Linked DNA regions of Homo sapiens: region 1 is linked to region 2. The links are contacts of gene promoters, found by promoter capture Hi-C in human tissues and cell types (Jung and others, 2019). All regions are on one chromosome and are shown on one strand. Each heading gives the region's core, a stretch centred on a gene start or on the middle of the fragment in contact. The rest is flanking DNA. Distances are from core to core; before and after follow the strand shown. Region 1 has its middle 13 kb from the start of C5AR1. Region 2 holds the start of SLC1A5 (solute carrier family 1 member 5).

The links. Contacts are between HindIII fragments. The study calls those that stand out against the background at their distance.
Region 1: a contact is called between a fragment that was not itself captured here and the fragment with the promoter of SLC1A5 in region 2, in 1 of the 25 tissues and cell types used here (H1 embryonic stem cells).

Annotation. Positions count from the first base shown.
Region 1 is chr19:47,295,085-47,298,791 of GRCh38, reverse strand. No RefSeq gene overlaps it. Among named protein-coding and RNA genes, the nearest start is that of C5AR1, 13 kb to the left of the region's middle. The HindIII fragment of the contact is 3,838 bases long and covers 1-3,272 here.
Region 2 is chr19:46,787,161-46,790,759 of GRCh38, reverse strand. It overlaps SLC1A5 (solute carrier family 1 member 5), which reads left to right and starts at 2,166. Exons shown (of 8, transcript NM_005628.3): 1 at 2,166-3,360. The coding sequence starts at 2,795. RefSeq lists silencers at 1,849-2,008, 2,979-3,028, 3,039-3,088 and enhancers at 1,954-2,248, 1,897-2,498. The HindIII fragment of the contact is 6,368 bases long and covers 1,458-3,599 here.

The DNA.
Region 1 (3,707 bases), core at 104-2,603, 510 kb before region 2:
CTACTAAAAATACAAAAAATTAGCCGGGCGTGGTGGTGGGCGCCTGTGGTCCCAGCTACTCGGGAGGCTGAGGCAGGAGAATGGCATGAATCCAGGAGGCGGAGCTTGCAGTGAGCCGAGATTGCACCGCTGCACTCCAACCTGGGCAACAGAGCAAGACTCCGTCTCAAAAAAAAAATTGTTTTAAATTAGCCAGGCACAGTAGCACACACCTGTAGTCCCAGCTACTCAGGAGGCCGAGGTGGAAGAATCACTTGAGCCCAGGAGTTATCCGACCAGCTGCAGTGAGCTGTGATTGTGCCACTGCACTCCAGCCTGGGCAACAGAGTAAGACTGTGTCTCTAAAACAACTAAAAAAAAAAAAAAATACAGAATGGAAGCTGATATTATTACACTGAAAATTCTAGAATTCTCTAATTCTAAAGTTGTAAGTGTTTAAGAGTGTGATTCGAGTCGAATGTTGCTTACCTGAGGCTGAGAAGGGAAGGTGGGAGGGAGACATAAAGAAAAATGGGTTAATGGGTACAAAAATACAGTTAGAACCAGATGCAGGGACTCACACCTATAATCTCAGCACTTTGAAGGCCGAGGTAGGAGGATTGCTCGAGGCCTTGAGTTTGAGACCAGCCTGGCCAACATGGCGAAACCCTGTCTTGATTAAAAATACAAAAATTGGCCGGGCACAGTGGCTCACACCTTAATCCCAGCACTTTGGGAGGCTGAGGCGGGCAGATCACGAGGTCAGGAGATCGAGACCATCCCGGCTCATATGGTGAAACCCCATCTCTACTAAAAATACAAAAAAATTAGCCGGGCATGGTGGCGGGTGCCTGTAGTCCCAGCTACTCGGGAGGCTGAGGCAGGAGAATGGCATGAACCTGGGAGGCAGAACTTGCAGTGAGCTAAGATCGCACCTCTGCACTCTAGCCTGGGCAACAGAGCAAGACTCCGTCTCAAAAAAAAAAAAAAAAAAAAAAAAAAAAAAAAAATTAGATGGGCATGGTGGCACATGCTTGTAATCTCAACACTTTGGGAGGCTGAGGTGGGGAGATCACTTGAGGTCAGGAGTTCAAGACCAGCCTGGCCAACATGGCTAAACTCCATCTTTACTAAAAATACAAAAATTAGCTGGGAGTGGTGGCGGGTGCCTGTAATCCCAGCTATTTAGGAAGCTGAGGCAGGAGAATCACTTCAACCCGGGAGGTGGAGGCTGCAGTGAGCAGAGATTGCACCACTGTACTGCAGCCTGAGTGACAAAACAAGACTCTGTCTCAAAAAAAATACAAATAATAAAATAATGAAGATGCTAACCTGAGCTGGCTTGAGGAACAGGGCAAACGGGTCCAGGTGGGGAGTCCCCTTCAGTTACCCAACTTTAAGGCCATAGCCCCCTCGCTACCAAAGTGTGTTTTCTCGATCCGCATCATCAAGCTTCCTGGACATGTTAGAAATGCAAGATCTTGGCGGGGCGCAGTGGCTCACGCCTGTAATCCAGCACTTTGGGAGGCCAAGGCAGGTAGACTGCCTGAGGCCAGGAGTTCGAGACCAGCCTGACCAACATAGTGAAACCCTGTCTCTACTAAAAATACAAAAAATTACCTGGGCGTGGTGGTGGGGGCCTGTGATCCCATCTTTCACTCGCGTCCGTGTGAAGACACCACCAAACAGGCTTTGTGTGAGCAATAAAGCTTTTAATCACCTGGGTGCAGGAGGGCTGAGTCCAAAAAGGGAGTCAGCGAAGGGAGATGGGGTGGAGCTGTTTTATAGGATTTGGGTAGGTAAAGGAAAATTACAGTCAGAGGGGGTTGTTCTCTGGCTGGCAGGGGTGGGGGGTCACAAGGTGCTCAGTGGTGGAGCTTTTGAGCCAGGATGAGCCAGGAGAAGGAATTTCACGAGGTAATGTCATCAGTTAAGGCAGGGACTGGCCATTTTCACTTCTTTTGTGGTGGAATGTCATCAGTTAAGGCAGGAACAGGCCATTTTCACTCCTTTTGTGATTATTCAGTTACTTCAGGCCATCTGGATGTATACGTGCAGATCACAGGGGATATGATGGCTTAGCTTGGGCTCAGAGGCCTGACACCATCTACTCGGAAGGCTGAGGCAGGAGAACTGCTTGAACCCAGGAGGTGAAGGCTGCAGTGAGCCGAGATCACACCACTGCACTCCAGCTTGGGTGACAGAGCGAGACTCTGTCAAAAAAAAAAAAAGAGAGAGAGAGAGAGAAGGAAAGAAAGAAGAAAGAGAAGGAAGGGAGGGAGGGAGGGAGGAAGGGAGGGAGGGAGGGAGGAAGGAAGGAAGGAGGGAGGGAAATGCAAGAGCTGTGGTCCTGCTCCAGCCCTGCTGAATTAGAACCTGCATTTTAACAAGACCCCCAGGTGATTCCTGGTCACCTTTAAGGTATAAGAAGCGCTGAATGAGTACGTCACCAGGAGACACTGGCCGGTTCCCTTCCTGCTATCATCATGTAGATGGCGCCCCCTTGTGGAGATTTTATTGAGACAAGGTTTGGCTCTACCGCCCTGGCTGGAGTGCAGTGGCGAGATCTCAGCCAACTGCAGACTCGAACTCCTGGAGCAATCTTCCCACTTCAGCCTCCCGAGTAGATTGGACTACAGGCACGCGCCACCATGCCTGGCTGATTTTTTTTATTATTATTGGAGAGATGAGGGGGTGTCTCGCTATATTGCTCAAGCTGGTCTTGAACTGCTGGCCTCGGAGATCCTCCTGCCTCAGCCTCCCAAAGCACTGGGATTGCAGTCATAAGCCACTACACCCAGCCAGCCTTCTTCCTTTATGGCAGGGGGTCTATCTCTTGTTGGATTTGATCATGGGTGCGTGATTTGTAATCAGCTGAAAATCTGAAAGCACGGCAGAGATGTTTTCTTGGAAATAAGCAATTTGTATTCTTTTTTTTTTTTTCTAGACAGAGTCTTGCTCTGTCACCCAGGCTGGAGTGCAGTGGTGCAATCTCGGCTCACTGCAGCCTCCACCTCCCGGATTCAAACGACTCTCCTGCCTCAGCCTCCCGAGTAGCTGGGTTTACAGGCGTGTGCCACCATGCCTGGCTAATTTTTGTATTTTTAGTAGAGACAGGGTTTTGCCATGTTGCCCAGGGTGGTCTAGAATTCCTGACCGCAAGTGATCCGCCTGTCTGAGCCTCCCAAAGTGCTAGGATTACAGTCATGAGCCATTGCACCTGGCAATTTTCTCCATTTTAATAAGCCCTCCAAGAAGGTAACAAGGTCTTGTGGGCAAAGAAATACATATGAAACTACATCAACATCTACAGAAGAGTGGCAGATTTGCTTGGGTTCCCCAAACGCAGATTCTGAGACAATGACTTGGGTGATGGCAGTTTATTTGGGAGGTGATCCCAGGAAGCAGGAGTGAGTTAGAGAACCAAGTCAGAAACAAGGCCAGGCGCAGTGGCTCACACCTGTAATCCCAGCACTTTGGGAGGCCAAGGCAGGCAGATCACCTGAGGCCAGGAGCTCGAGACCAGCCTGACCAACATGGTGAAACCCTGTCTCTACTAAAAATACAACAATTAGCCAAGTATGCTGGCGGGCGCCTGTAATCCCAGCTACTTGGGAGGCTGAGGCAGGAGAATCTCTTAAACCCGGGAGGCGGAAGTTGCACTGACCCAAGAACACACCACTGCACTCCAGCCTGGGCGACAGAGTAAGACTCCATCTCAAAAAAAA
Region 2 (3,599 bases), core at 917-3,416:
CAGGCGCCCGCCATCATGCCTGGCTGATTTTTTGTATTTTTAGTAGAGACGGGGTTTCACCGTGTTAGCCAGGATGGTCTCGATCTCCTGACCTTGTGATCCACCCGCCTCGGCCTCCCAAAGTGCTGGGATTACAGGCGTGAGCCACCATGCCCGGCCGAAAAATTTTTTAAAATATTTATTTATTTATTTTGAGACGGAGTCTCACTCTGTCACTAGGCTGGAGTGCAGAGGTGTGATCTTGGCTCACTGCAACCTCCACCTCCCGGGTTCAAGCGATTCTCCTGCCTCAGCCTCCTGAGTAGCTGGGACTACAAGTGCATGCCACCATGCCCAACTAATTTTTGTATTTTTAGTAGAGACAGAGTTTCACCATATTGGCCAGGATGGTCTCGATCTCCTGACCTCATGATCTGCCCACTCTGGCCTCCCAAAGTGCTGAGATTACAGACATGAGCCACCATGCCTGGCCTATTTTCATGTTTTTAAAGATAAGGTCTCACTATGTTGCCCCGGATGGAGTCTAGTGGCTAAATGTGGGCACGATCATAGCTCACTGCAGCCTTGAACTCCTGGCCTCAAGGGATCCTCCTGCTTTAGCCTCCCAAATACCTGGGACTACAGGTGCATGCCACTGAATCCAGCTTGTTCTTCAGTAATAATAACAATAACAGCAATCGCAGCAGTAGTATTTGACTTTCTTCTGAAGGGCATTTTTGTTAGAAACAAAAGAAGAGAGAAAGAACAAAAAATTTTAAAGCACAAATAAATAACTTTTTTTTTTTTGAGGTGGAGTCTCACTCTGTCACCCAGGCTGGAGTGCAGTGGTGAGATCTCGGCTCTTCGCAACCTCTGCCTCCTGGATTCAAGCAATTCTTCTGCCTCAGCCTCCTGAGTAGCTGGGATTACAGGCATGTGCCACCACACCCAGCTAATTTTTGCATTTTCAGCAGAGACAGGGTTTTGCCATGTTGGCCAGGCTCGTCTGGAACTCCTGACCTCAAGTGATCTGCCCGCATCAACTCCCAAAGTGGTGGGATAACAGGCGTGAGCCACTGCGCCCGGCCGTATTATCTCATTTGAACCCTTGCAACACTCAAGGCGGTATGACTTATTATTATTCCCATTTACACATATGAAGACTGAGCCTCATAGAGGTTGTAAATTACCTGAGGCCTCACAGCTGCTGTAGGAGGAAGCTTCTGACATTACCACTACAATCTTTGAGCAAGCATGAAAGCCTGAAATGTCACAGAACAGGCTAGAGATGGGAAAGGAATGAGGATTTCAACACTGTCAGGTGGAGTAAGGAATCATAATTCATTGTTAACCTCCCAAACGGCCACTAACAGAGAATTTGGGGAGGCAGCAGAGTGGGTGCGGTTAGGGGCTTGGGAGGTGGGCATGCACGTGTCATCCTCTCTAGGTGTGGCCTCAAGGTGAATGACTTCCTCTGCCTCTGGGGTTCAAGCGATTCTCCTGCCTCAGGCTTCCAGTAGCTGGGATTACAGGCACGTGCCACCACACCAGGTAATTTTTGTATTTTTAGTAGAGACGGGTTTCACCATGTTGGCCAGGCTGGTCTCGACCTCCTGACCTCAAGTGATCCGCCCGCTTCACCTCCCAAAGTGGTGGGATTACAGGCTTGAGCCACGGCTCCCTAAATAAATACATCAATTTTATTTAAATCTTACAGCAATCATATGAGACAAAAGCTTTTAACACCTGCACTTTATATTCGAGGAATTAAAGTTCTCAGAGGCGACTAAAGACCAAACTCAGGGCTGAGGAGTTCCAAAGCTGAGTTGAGTTGCAAATGAATCACCGAGGACCACCGGAGCTTTCTAGCGACCCTCGCACCAGGGAACGAACCCCTGTGGTTTAAGGGCTCCAACCCACAACCCAGTTCCTTTGGCGGGAAACAGCACCCTCCCAAGGCCCCGCCCCTTCCTGGCCCCGCCCCGTCGTCTCTGGGCCCGGCTCCTGGAGATGGGTATTATTAATCTGCCTTCTATGGGGGACCTGGCCCATCTCGGGTATCAGCCCCGCCCCTACTCGTCCAGTCTCCGAACGCTCTGCAGCCAATCGGCGCCCGAGGGTCGGTCCCCGCCTTCTCAAGCCCCGCCCCCTACCCTTATCCCTGGCAGCTTCCGCTAAACGGGCTCAGAGCCACGCGGCACGCCCGGGAGGCTTTCTCTGGCTGGTAACCGCTACTCCCGGACACCAGACCACCGCCTTCCGTACACAGGGGCCCGCATCCCACCCTCCCGGACCTAAGAGCCTGGGTCCCCTGTTTCCGGAGGTCCGCTTCCCGGCCCCCAGATTCTGGCATCCCAGCCCTCAGTGTCCAAGACCCAGGCAGCCCGGGTCCCCGCCTCCCGGATCCAGGCGTCCGGGATCTGCGCCACCAGAACCTAGCCTCCTGCAGACCTCCGCCATCTGGGGGCACTCAACCTCCTGGAGCCAAGGGCCCCACGTCCCACCCAGAGAAACTCTCGTATTCCCAGCTCCTAGGGCCAAGGAACCCGGGCGCTCCGAACTCCCAGCTTTCGGACATCTGGCACACGGGGCAGAGCAGAGAAGCCTCAGCGCCCAGCCTGGGGAATTTAAACACTCCAGCTTCCAAGAGCCAAGGAACTTCAGTGCTGTGAACTCACAACTCTAAGGAGCCCTCCAAAGTTCCAGTCTCCAGGTGCTGTTACTCAACTCAGTCCTAGGAACGTCGGGTCCTGGGAAGGAGCCCAAGCGCTCCCAGCCAGCTTCCAGGCGCTAAGAAACCCCGGTGCTTCCCATCATGGTGGCCGATCCTCCTCGAGACTCCAAGGGGCTCGCAGCGGCGGAGCCCACCGCCAACGGGGGCCTGGCGCTGGCCTCCATCGAGGACCAAGGCGCGGCAGCAGGCGGCTACTGCGGTTCCCGGGACCAGGTGCGCCGCTGCCTTCGAGCCAACCTGCTTGTGCTGCTGACAGTGGTGGCCGTGGTGGCCGGCGTGGCGCTGGGACTGGGGGTGTCGGGGGCCGGGGGTGCGCTGGCGTTGGGCCCGGAGCGCTTGAGCGCCTTCGTCTTCCCGGGCGAGCTGCTGCTGCGTCTGCTGCGGATGATCATCTTGCCGCTGGTGGTGTGCAGCTTGATCGGCGGCGCCGCCAGCCTGGACCCCGGCGCGCTCGGCCGTCTGGGCGCCTGGGCGCTGCTCTTTTTCCTGGTCACCACGCTGCTGGCGTCGGCGCTCGGAGTGGGCTTGGCGCTGGCTCTGCAGCCGGGCGCCGCCTCCGCCGCCATCAACGCCTCCGTGGGAGCCGCGGGCAGTGCCGAAAATGCCCCCAGCAAGGAGGTGCTCGATTCGTTCCTGGATCTTGCGAGGTCAGCTCCCGCTCCCCCGGGAGGTGGGGAAGAGTGTTACGGATGGCGGGAGTGGTCACGTGGACAGGACGGGGCTTTGGGGCCCCTGGAGCAGAGACTTCCCTCTAGAGTCTTAGGAAAACTCGACAGGATATTGAGGGGAGGCTCCAGCCCTCGGGAGTGTGAGTCTAGTCTCCTGGGGAAGGGGTTTCTAAATCTGGGGGCCTGGGTACATAAGTGGGGTCTTATAGAGGGAGAAG